Linked DNA regions of Homo sapiens: region 2 is linked to region 1. Evidence: promoter capture Hi-C in 16 types of primary human blood cells and fetal thymus (Javierre and others, 2016). All regions are on one chromosome and are shown on one strand. Each heading gives the region's core, a stretch centred on a gene start or on the middle of the fragment in contact. The rest is flanking DNA. Distances are from core to core; before and after follow the strand shown.

Region 1 (6,023 bases), core at 2,581-5,080:
GCTTAGATAAATGGTTGCAGATGACATCACTTTTAGTATAACAGAACATTTCTGGTTTTGTTTGTATTATCTTGTAAACATGGCCAACATGGTGAAACCCCATCTCTACTAAAAATACAAAAAATTAGCCGGGAGTGGTGGCATGCGGCTGTAATCCCAGCTACTCGGGAGGCCGAGGCAGGAGAATCACTTGAACCCGGGAGGCAGAGGTTGCAGTGAGCCGAGATCGTACCACTGCACCCCAGCCTGGGCGACAGAGTGAGACTCCGTCACAAAAAAAAAAAAAAAAGGGAAAGAAAAAGAAAGAAATATACCTTTTAAGGAGTTCCTTTAGTGTGTCTCTGTTGGTAGCTTGTTTATGTTTGATGATATATTTATTTCATCCTCACTCATCTGATGGATAATTTAGGTAGTTGTACACTTTTTTTTTTTTTTTTTTTTTTGAGACAGAGTCTTGCTCTGTCGTCCAGGCTGGAGTGCAGTGGTGTGATCCCTGCTCACTGCAACCTCTGCTTCCTGGGTTCAAGTGATTCTCCTGCCTCAGCCTACCAAGTAGCTGGGACTACAGGCGCACACCACCACACCCTGCTATTTTTTATATTTTTAGCAGAGACAGGGTTTTGCCGTTGTTGGCCAGGCTGGTCTTGAACTCCTGATCTCAGGTGATCTGCCCACCTCAGCCTCCTAAAGTGCTGGGATTACAGGTGTGAGCCACTGTGCCCAGCCGGTAGCTGTACACTTCTAAGCTTGGTTATTTTCTCTTGGTACTTTGAAAATATACCATTATTGACTGGCACCCGTTTTGCTGTTGTGAAATCTGCTATGAATGTAATAGTTGTTTGTACAGAATGTCTTTTCTCTCTGGTTGCTTTATCTCTGGTATTCTGCGGTTTCATTTTCATGTGTTTGAAATTTCTTTACTTATCCTGCTTGGTATTCAGTTTGCTTCCTGAATCTGAAGATTCCTGTCTTTAATCAATTCTGGAAATTTTTCAGCCATTATCTCATCATTATCTGCCTCTCTTGGTTTTTCTCTTTTCTCTCCTGGAATTCTCATTAGGAGTATGGTAGAGACCTTAACAATCTATCCCCATGTCTCTTAAGCTTGCTTTCATTTTTCCTGTCTCTAGGCTGTTCTCAGTAATTTCTTTTGGTCTGTCTTCCAGTTTACTAATTTTCTCTTCAATTGTGTGTAATCTGCTATTTAACCAAACATTGGCTTTGGTTTCAGTTATTCTTTGTTTCTAGAAATTCTACTTAATTCTTTTGTTGTTGTTGTTTTTGTTTTGAGACGGAGTTTTGCTCTTGTTGCCCAGGCTGGAGTGCAATGGCATGTTCTTGGCTTACTGCAACCTCCACCTCCCAGGTTCAAGTGATTCTCCTGCCTCAGCCTCCTGAGTAGGTGGGACTACAGGTGCCCACCACCACGCCTGGCTAATTTTTGCATTTTTAGTAGAGACTGGGGTTTCACCATGTTGGCCAGGCTGGTCTCGAACTCCTGACCTCGGGTGATCTGCCCACCTCGGCCTCCCAAACTGCTGGGATTACAGGTGTGAGCCACCGCGCCTGGCCTACTTATTTCATTTTCAAAGCTGTTTGGTCGTTAAAAAAAAAAAGCATCTTGTTTCTTGCTCGTGTTTTCTAGCTCCTGTCTTACTTTCTTTAATCATTTAAATAGGCGTACTGTATATTCTGTAGCCATCAATTCCAGCAGCTAAAGTCTGTGTGGGTTTCATTATGTTCTTTGTAGTTTCTATTGACTCACTCATCGCTGCTTATTTCCTCAGGTGTATTGTATTTCGGGTGCTCATGTTTGGCTTCGGAAATCCTGTTTATCTGTGAAATCCTTTGAGACCGAGGTTGAGGGTACACCTGTGCAGTCAGGATTTGTATTTGTTTCTTCCAGGCCCCCCAGAACTCCAGCCTGGGACCACTTTCTTGACAAATTTGAACTTTAAAACCTTAGTGAGGGAAAATTCTAAAGGGTTATTAATTCTAAAGGGAAAATTTTCTTCTGCCCTGCAAGCCCACTGCAGGCCAAAGTAAACAAATGTCCTGTGTGTCTCCCTGGGCTAGCATAGGGTTTTTTTTCCCCCCAGTCTGTTCTTGGAGGGTATAGCGCCTTGAATTTCCAGTCCTATGCAGGATCACAGTCCTGACTTCTTGTATAGGCCCAAGTCCTTGTCTTTAGTTTCCTGTGCACCTATTAAAACTCTAGAGATTTCTGAGATAAGTAGGTGCCCTCAACACAACCATGGCTTCACTGCCCTGCTTACCACTCTGGTGTCCTGCCCCTTCTTCAGGTTGAGTGTGAAATTTGGAAGACTGTCAGAAACATTCTATTTTCATTCTTGCAAGTTATGCCTTTGAAAGGATGTCTTATTTATCCAGTGTTTCTGTGTGTTTAATAATCAGAGCATTTTTCAGGTTATCTCTTACTGTGCCATGTTGCTCCTTGATTCCTTTCTCTCCTGTACCCACTGCATCAATTGAGTTTTTTGCTCTACATTGATAGAGAAGCACAATTCCTCTTTCTTTCCACTGCCTTCCTACTTTATTTCCCTTCTATTCTTGCATCTCTATACTCCATTATCCACATTGCAGTCTAGTGATCTTAAAGTGTAAGCCAGGTAACATCGCTTTCCTGCTTAAAAAAGCCTTTTAATGGTTTTTTGTAATATAGACTTTTTACCATGGCATTCAGGATCTTTCATGACCTGAATCTTGTCTGCTGTAGTGTTTTCTTAATAGTACCGCCTTCTTGTTCTAGGCCCCAGCTACACAGGCCTTCTTAACTGACCGTAGCAAGCCCTTTTCTTTCTTCTCCTGCCTGTATTGCTTTTCTCTGGGTGCTTCTTATTGCTGTCTCTTTCTGTTCTTGCCTTAAGTGTCACCTCCTTAACGAGGCCTTCTCCGACCACCCTATCCAAAGTAACCTCGCCAAGTTTTTTCTTATACCAGGTGTGACTACTTTAATTACTGCGTCCTCATATAAGCTCCACAAAGGCTTGGTGAATCGTGTTCACCCTTGCATTTCTTTTGTGTTTTTTGTTTTGTTTTTGAGGCATGACGACTCTGTCACGCTGAAGTGCAGTGGCCCGATCTTGGCTCACTGCAGCCTCCTCCTCCTGGGTTCAAGCGATTCTCCTGCCTTAGTCTCCCGAGTAGCTGGGACTACAGATGCGTGCCACCATGCCCAGCTAATTTTTGTATTTTTAGTAGAAACGGGGTTTCATCGTGTTGGCCAGGCTGGTCTCGAACTCCCGACCTCAGGTGATCCGCCTGCCTCAGCCTCCCAAAGTGCTGGGATTACAGGCGTGAGCCACCGCACCTGAACCACCCTTGTATTTCTGATGCTTAACAGTGTCTAGTCCATATCAGACACTCAAATATTTGTAGAATAAGTGAAACATTGATGAACTCCTCCGTGGATAAAATAGGGAAGTCTTAATTTGCAAGGAGGTGATACTTAATTTAGCAGCAAAATTTTAGTTAAGAATTTGTAAGCAAAAAAGCAAAATGGATAACGGATGAATTCCCAGAAACAAATGTCGCGGAGCAGATGTGTATAACAGCAATCGTCTGTCAGCGTCTTCCGTCGGCAGAGACCTGCTTGGAGACAATGCTGAATTAAATGAGGGACTGGCTGCTCCTCTCAATACAAAGACTACCCAAGGAATAAAAGCAACGTCTATCACCGAACTACTACTCCCAGCGGCCCCCGCGCGGGCCTGCCCATGGGAGGTGGCGCTCGTCTCCGCCCCGGGGAGCTCCGGCTTCGGGGCGGGAGGGGTTCTGGGTTCTGGCCCCGCCCCGCCCCGCTCCCCGCCGTCTTCCTCCCCCAGGGTTGTGGCCACGCGCAGCGGCGGCGGTTGTTCCGCTTCCCCTCCGGCCCGGGCCGTCGCCATTGCCGAAGGCTCCCTCCCCTCCCCTCCCTGGCGTGCGCAGGACTCCGCCGCCGCTGGGCCTAGCGGTAGCAGCGGCTGCTCCAGCGCGGCGTCTCTTCCCGCCCCGCTTCCCCTTCCCTCCCCTCCCCTCCCCGCACCGCGCGCTAGCCCGGGGCGGCTCCGCAGCCCGCCGGGAGCTCTGACCGAGGCGCCTCGCTGGGGCGGGGACCTTGCCTTGCCCGGGGTAAGTGCACACAGGCCGGCCGGCGCGGGACGCAGGCCGGGTCTCTTCCTCCTCCTTCCTTCTCCGTGGCCTGGCGGGCGGGAGCGGCCCGGGACGGCCGACCTGCCCCGCGCGGGGCCGGGGAGCCGCCACCTGCGTGCTGGGAGCCGCAGCTCCTGGGGCGGTGGCTCATTGTCTGCTCCCCAGGGCCGTTTTCTTCGCTGGCTTTAGCCAGAAATGGGAAGCTCGCTGGGCTGCGGAGGTCTGACTCTTCCTGGACCCAGCCCTGCTCTGAACCTCGCGGCACCACGGTCTCTGCCGACTCTCGGTCTTCCCTCCCCTCGCGTTTCACCCTCTTCCTTTGCTCCGTTTTCTTAATGCTGGACCAGACTCTCCGGTTTTGTTCCTTGATTTTTCCTCTCACTGATTCTCAGCCCCTGCTTGCTCGCTCTCTGTTCACCCGTTTCACTGCTCAGGAATATTGTCGCGAGTAGCTTGACTGTTTTCTCAGCTCCAGCCTGTAACCTCTTTTCCACATTCCACATTGGTAAAAACGTAGAGCGTCCCGGGCGCTTGAGGGCCACCGCTTACGAACTGATCTTTCGGAGCTTCTCCTCGCTCCTGTTTGAGCTTCAGCCTAGGGGTGAAATTTGCTTCTTTAGATAACTTAGGTGAAGTTAAGATTGGTTTTTCACCATGTTTGGCTCTCTTGGAAACACACGCACGCACAAACACAAAACGTTGCCACTCAACCTTTTAACTAATTCTTTAAAGATAAGTCATCCAAGAACAGAAGCGTGTCATCGTCAGTGGGTGTGAGGTTGTACCCATCCTTGTATCTTAATTTTAGTAGTACTCTCCCTGGGCAGTGTGAGCGTGATTTGTTGTCCCTTGATAAATAACGAACTCCGGTTGATATCATTATCTCACTTCTGCGTTACAGGCGATGTGTCCTTTCTTTGTTTTCTTTTTTAACCTTTATAAAAAGACAAAATGGTTAGGCCTAAAATTAAACTACGAAGAGCTGTGTTTTGGATCAAGGTTGTGCACGTCACGTTTTTTCCCCTGCTGTGTTCGACTCTTCCGCTCTTATAAGTAGGCAGGATATTGAAATGTACAAGAATTTGCTCTGGGGATTTTGTTTTTGTAGGGTTGTCCAATAGAATAACACTCAGTAAAGTTACATTGGGATGAAGGCAGTGAATAGTAATTTTTAAAGCAGGTTAAAACTTGTCAACTTTGCCAGAAGGTCTGTGGCTTCTGTAAAGCCCACTCATGCTCGTGTATATATGAAGAGCCTTTTTCATGTTCTGTTAGGAGTATGGATTTCAGGCAACTTTTTCACTGTGTCATCCTCGGCTATTAAATCTTTCGAGCTACTTATTAGCCAAGCACATTGATTGACACTTATTACGGAAAGTGAACCTGTAATAGATGTAGGTCTTAAACCAACTTTCCGATTTGGTAACAGGTTGACCTAAATTCAGTGTATTTTGTGTTTTCACTAAGTAGCCCATTGTTACCTTTCCCTCCAGCAAGGCTCTGAAAAAAGTGGCTCCAATACTCAGCTTCAATACTGTCATCATTTCTTAAATAGTAGTATCAGTTGTCCTTAACTTAATGGATGTTTTATTGGCCTGAGGGATTAAGGTGTAGAAAGGTTGGAGTTTTGTTGGAGTTTGAAACTTGGTCTGTAGATGTTGGCTTCTCTGCCAGTTTCTTCTAATCAGCAGATATTTTTATGAAGGAAGAGTTCCTGGGTATTTCACTTCCCTTAGGGCCTTGGTTTATGGTTTACTCTCATTCAGAGAGAGATACTATTCTGGACTCCGTGCTATTTAATACTAACCTTGCAAACCCAAATTCAAAATTAAGTTTATAGTTCGAGTATACAGGCGATAGGGCTCTCTGAT
Region 2 (6,023 bases), core at 1,752-4,251, 1.0 Mb after region 1:
TCTTATACTTCCGTTGTTACTATTAGCATAGTGAGAGGCAGCATAGGGTGAGTATTAAAAGTACAGACTCGGGCCGGGCACGGTGGTTCACGCTTGTAATCCCAGCACTTTGGGAGGCGGAGGCTGGTAGATCCTCTGAGGTCAGGAGTTTGAGACCAGCCTGGCCAACATGGCGAAACCCCGTCTCTACTAAAAATACAAAAAATTAGCTGGGCGTGGTGGCGGGCACCTGTAATCCCAGCTACTTGGGAGGCTGAGGCAGGAGAATTGTTTGAACCTGGGAGGCAGAGGTTGTAGTGAAGCAAGACGGTGCCACTGCACTCCAGCCTTGGCGACAGAGCAAGACTCTATCTCAAAAAAAAAAAAAAAAAAGTGCAGTCTCTTGGGCCGGCATGGTCGCTCATGCCTGTAACCTCAGCACTTTTGAGAGGCCGAGGCTGGAGAATATCTTGAGCCCAGGAGTTTGAGACCAGCCTAGGCAACATAGTGAGACCCTGTCTAAAAAAAGAAAAAAAAAAAAAAGCGCAGACTCTGGTGCCGAACTGCCTGGGTTTGAATCCAGTTCTGCCAGGGATTCGCTGTACAACCTTGGCAAGTTACTTACCCTGTCCATTTCTCAGCTTTCTCATCTGTGACACAGCAATAACAGTAGTACCGACCACATACAATAGTTATAGGGATTAAAGAAGTTAACGCAGTATTCATATCTTAATACCTTAAAACAATTCCTGGCATGTGGTAAATAGCATTTGTTACATACATTAAAAAAATAACTAACCCAGCCTCCCTCACATGAAGTGGTAGAGGGAAATCAAAACAATCCTAAAACGTGTTTAGAATTTACATGGGACCTTTCACACGAAGCACGTCACAGACATCTGCAGGAAGAATAAATAGTCAAATAGGCAAAGCAGAAACTGAAACATGGAAAAGGGAAGTAAGATGTTCAGTTTCACTTAGCACAAATCATTCTCAGATCTCAGGCAGGAGCCCCAAAGTCCTGTCAGTCCAGGTTTTGTTCAACAGGCCACTTTGCACATAAAAGTAGAGTCACCCTTAAAAATAGCAAGTCTTCACCCAGGAACATCTCATAAATCTTCCCTTGTTGATATTTTCTCAGAGGTAAATATTCTGCTTCTAGTTTTTGGATCCCAGCTGCTCCTGAGACCATCATTATATCTGAAACTGTTTCTAAATGTCAAGTGAGGTCAGGCCTGGTGGCTCACACCTGTTAATTCCAGCACTTTGGGAGGCCGACGTGGCGGGGGAGAATTGCTTGAGCCCAGGAGTTAGAGACCAGCCTGGGCAATATGGTGAGACCCTGTCTCTACAAAAAAGTTTTTTAAAGTAGCCAGATGTGGTAGCTGGCACCTATATCCCCAGCTACTTGGGAAGCTGAGCTAGTATAATCGCTTGAGCCCAAGAGTTGGAGGCTGCAGTGAGCCGTGTTCACGGCACTGCGCTCAGCCTGGGGGACAGGGTGAGGCTGTGTCTCAAAAAATAAAATAAAAATAAAATAATAAATGTCAAGTATGACTCCCTTAAGCCACATTCCTGCTCTCGCCTGTCAGCATTCCAGCCTCTTTAAAAAAGATTAAGACCAGAGTTATTAATGAAGCAAACCCTAAATATGGAAGGCATCTCTACAGACTCCGATTCATCATTTAGTCAAAGTAGTTCGGGGTTTCTTTGGCTTTTTGTTTTTTGAAGACAGGGTCTTCCTCTGTCACCCAGGCTGGAGTGTAGTGGTGCGATCTCGGCTCAATGCAGCCTCGACTTATTGGACTCAAGTGATCCTCTCGCCTCAGCCTCCCGAGTAGCTGGCACCACAGGTGAGCACCACCACGCCGAGCTAATTTTTGTATTTTTGTAGAGACGGGGATCTCCCTAGGTTACCCAGGCTGGTCTCAAACTCCTGGACTCAAGCGACCCGCCTCAGCCTCCCCCAAGGTGCTGGAATTACAGGTGTGAGGCACCGCACCCGGTCCAAAGTAGTTTTTATATTTTAAATCCCCCAATTTCTAGAAGATATGAGCTTTCTGACATGGTTCCATATAAATAAATGTGAACTTGCTTAGTTTGCATTGTGAGGAAAAAGGGACAGGTTTGAAGACGAAAAGGAAATGGCACAGAGGTCCTGCCACTCTCTGACAGGGATTCGGCAATGACAAAGTGCAGAGTTTCTGGTCTCATTAGCAGTCCCCGCCCCACCGCACTGCCATGACACTCGCTCACTTTCTCCCCAGGCTCTCCTCGCCTTCATCCCCATGCTCATCTCTGCCTAAGCTTCTTCCGAGGCCACTCATAACGCTTCACCTCTGCTCCCAGGAATTCTCACATCCTCTTCGCGTTGGCCCCACTTGCTGTCACGGCAAGTTTCAGTCCGGGTGGTGCCCTGCCCCTGTCTATAGACTCTGGCCTGTAAAACCTCACTGCACCCCTCTGGCCTCTTCGCCCAGTCTCTCAGCTGCCACCTCCTCTCCAGCAGTCTTGGATCTGAGCTTCACCCTCCTCTGCTGCCCTTGCCCTCCGCAAATCCCACCCACCCTCCTCACCCTAAGCCGGTTCCTTCGTCCCATCCCCGCCCCGCCCGTCCTTCCTCTGCGAAATGCTTCCCAAACAAGTCCTCCGCAGCCGTCGTCCTCAAGACTCGTCGCGCCCGGCCCTTCTCTCCGTGACCCCGCGCCCTCCCAAGCCTCCCGGGGCTCCGGCGCCTGTCGCTGCCCCGACTCCGCGGCGGCTCCCAGCCCACCTGCTCTCCTCAGGCAGGCGCTCCTCGCCGCCTCCGAGCTCCATTCCCGCGCCCTCCGGCCGCATCCGGGGCGGTGAGGCCGCCTCTTCGCCCAAGAGAGGCGTCCCTGCCGCTTCGCCCTTCAGGGCTCCCGGGGCCCCCTGGGGCCGGAGGAGGCACCTGCGGCCGGTGGGCTCCGGGTGATGCGCTACACCCGGGCGGCGACAGCGGGAGGGACCGCCGCCTGGGCTGCGGCTTCTATCCCGGCCACCCCCACTTCCGGCTCCGGGGACTACAGCCCCCGGCGAGCACTCCGAGGCTAGGCCGCTCCCGCAGGACGCGTCCTCCAATCCCAGGCCGCGCTCGCAGACCGCGCCCCTCCAACGGCAGGCCGCTCCCGCAAGCCGCGCCCTCCAATCCCAGGCCGCTCCCGCAGGCCGCGCCCTCCAATCCCAGGCCGCGCTCGTGGATTACTACGCACCCGGTGGTTGGCTGGGCCGGCTTGCAAGCGGCGGGGGACCTTGGTCTCAGGAATCCGTGCCGGGGCGTATCCTTATTCACCCCCGTGACATTACACGCTGGGGACCGAACTCAGTCCGAGATGTAGACTAGGCAATAACGCTAATCTAATCCCGGTACGATTAACCCCACTCAGCCCGCCCTGGCTTAATGTCCGCTGGTGGTGTTTGGAGACCTCGAGCATTTAAATGAAGCGCTCACAAACAAGAGCACAGGTTGCTTTGGGATCATAAAAGAGCAGGAGAGAAAGGCTTCTGGGGGCTCTCGGAAGATGGATGTCAACGCAGAGTTTTCAAGGCTGAGTACGGGTTAGCCAGGAGAAAGAAGAGAAGGTGGAGAGAGCAACACGGCAGATACAAGGAAGGAAGTGCTGGCTTGGGAACTGCAGGTGCTGGGTAGCCAGAGCTGGGAAGGAGTGAGCAGCAGCATGGTGTGGGCATTCTGGTGTGGGGAAACCAGATCATGAAATGCCATTTTAAGGAGTTTGGATTTTATCCTGAAAACAATCAGCAAATCAAGCATATGCAAATCAAGAAGTGATTTGATCGAATCTGATGAGAAAGCCACTTTTGACAATGTGGACAGGAGATGGGGCAGATATAATACTATATTGAGGTAACGGTGGAAGGCTAGATAGGAGACTGGTCATCCTTATGGGGGATAACCAAGTAATGCTAAGAAGTGAAGCGAACCAGTTGAAAGAAACGTGGGCCTAGGGTTGCCAGATACTCTGGTTTCTCTTTTTTCTTTTTCAAAGACGGGGTCTCTCTCTGTCGCCCAGGCTGGGGTGCAGTGGCGCAATCATAGCTCCCTGCAGCCTGGAACTCCTGGGCTCAAGCAGTCCTCCTTCCTCAGCCTCCTGAATAGCTGGGACTACAGGTGCGAGCCACCACACCTAGCTATGATATTTTGATTTTTTAAAAGAAGCTAGGATCTGCATTTTTAAGCACTACTTCCAAATTTTTAAACGTTGGCAACAAATTTTTTAAACTTTCAACTTTGCACAGGCCAAACACAGCTTGTCTGTAGGCTGAAGGTGGCCCTTGAGTTGCTAGTTTGCAAACCCAGGCTTAAACTACAGCAGCGGTTGAAGAGAACAAGGAGGCTCAGATTACAGCAATGTGAAGGCAACAGAATCAGCACTACTCTATAAAGGACTGACTGTGGCAAGTGAGGGAGAAAGAGCGATCAAGAATAACTCCGTGAAAAACTAATGACTCTATATTAAAATAATATATGGCTTTTAGGTATTTTCAAACTTGACAAAAGTGTTTTGGCAATTAAAAATGAAATGAAAGAGCCTCTTGAAGCCATTTATGATTTCATTTAGGTTAAAAAAATACTCTCTTTCAAACTTTCTCATTTTCCTACTAAACGATTATACTTCTTTAAGAAAGGGGCAATATTACTCATTGGGATTTCTCTTCCTTCTGTGACTTTCTTCTCTTTTGGAGACGCAGTCTTGCTCTGTCACCCAGGCTGGGGTGCAGTAGCGCTGCCACAGTTCACTGCAGCCTCAACCTCCTCAAGCGGATCCTCTCACCTCAGCTTCCCAAGTAGCTGGGACCACAGGCAGTGCCACTATGCCCAGCTAATTTGTTTTTTTTTTTTTAATTTTTGGTAGAGACAGGGTCTCACTGTGCTGCCTAAGCTGGTCTCAAATTCCTGGGCTCAAGCAGTCCTCCTGCCTCAGTCACCCAAAAAGTATTGGGATTACAGGCATGAGGCACCATACCTGGCCTTACTTCTAGTTCTATAAATGTATGAACTTTATTTTTTGGCATACAGTATAATCCCAAATTAACACTATATTATTTATTTATTTATTTTTGAGACAGAGTTTCACTCTTGTTGGCTAGACTGGAGTGCAATGGCGCGATCGGGTTCAAGCGATTCTCCTGCCTCAGCCTCCTGAGCAGCTGGGATTACAGGCATCCGCCACCACGCCCGGCTAATTTTGTATTTTTTAGTAGGGACAAGGTTTCTCCATGTTGGTCAGGCCGGTCTTGAACTCCCGACCTCAGGTGATCCGCCGGCTTCGGCCTCCCAAAGTGCTGGGATTACAGGCGTACTAAAAAATACAAAAAAATTAGCCGGGCATGGTGGCAGACGCCTGTAATCCCAGCTACTCAGGAGGCTGAGGCAGGAGAATGGCTTGAACCCAGGAGGCAGGGCTTGCAGTGAGCCGAGATCGTGCTACTGCACTCCAGCCTGGGCGATAAGAGCAAGACTTCGTCTGAAAAAAGAAAAAAAAAAAAAGGCCGGGCGTGGTGGCTCATGCCTGTAATCCCAGCACTTTGGGAGGTCAAGGCGGGCAGATCACGAGGTCAGGAGATGGAGACTATCCTGGCTGACACGGTGAAACCCCGTCTCTACTAAAAATACAACAAAAAATTAGCCGGGCGTGGTGGCGGGCGCCTGTAGTCCCAGCTACTCCGGAGGCTGAGGCAGGAGAATGGCGTGATGAACCCGGGAGGCGGAGCTTGCAGTGAGCAGAGATCACGCCACTGCACTCCAGCCTGGAAGACAGAGCTAGACCTGGGCGACAGAGGGAGACTCCGTTTCAAAAAAAAAGGCAATCAGCTTTATCAGGAAATCCTAGGGGCCAGAAGCGGTGGCTCACGCCTGTAATCTCAACACTGGGAGGCCCAGGCAGGCGGGTCACTTGACACCAGGAGTTCGAAACCAGCCTGGCCAACATAGTGAAACTCTGTCTCTACTAAAAATACAAAGAAAAAATAGTCGGGTGTAGTGGCACACGCCTGTAATCCCA

The links. The method cuts DNA at HindIII sites, captures the fragments that hold promoters and counts their contacts. A CHiCAGO score of 5 or more calls a contact.
Region 2: the fragment with the promoter of RUBCN here is called in contact with the fragment with the promoter of PAK2 in region 1 in 2 of 17 cell types (M0 macrophages and total B cells); the score reaches 7.1 in M0 macrophages.

What each region holds. Positions count from the first base shown.
Region 1 is chr3:196,736,027-196,742,049 of GRCh38, forward strand. It overlaps PAK2 (p21 (RAC1) activated kinase 2), which reads left to right and starts at 3,831. Exons shown (of 15, transcript NM_002577.4): 1 at 3,831-4,131. RefSeq lists a silencer at 3,622-4,411. The HindIII fragment of the contact is 10,729 bases long and covers 1,103-6,023 here.
Region 2 is chr3:197,733,903-197,739,925 of GRCh38, forward strand. It overlaps RUBCN (rubicon autophagy regulator), which reads right to left and starts at 3,002. Exons shown (of 20, transcript NM_014687.4): 1 at 2,753-3,002. The coding sequence starts at 2,817. RefSeq lists enhancers at 1,300-1,349, 2,280-3,127 and silencers at 2,716-3,265, 5,625-5,757. The HindIII fragment of the contact is 5,208 bases long and covers 2,285-6,023 here.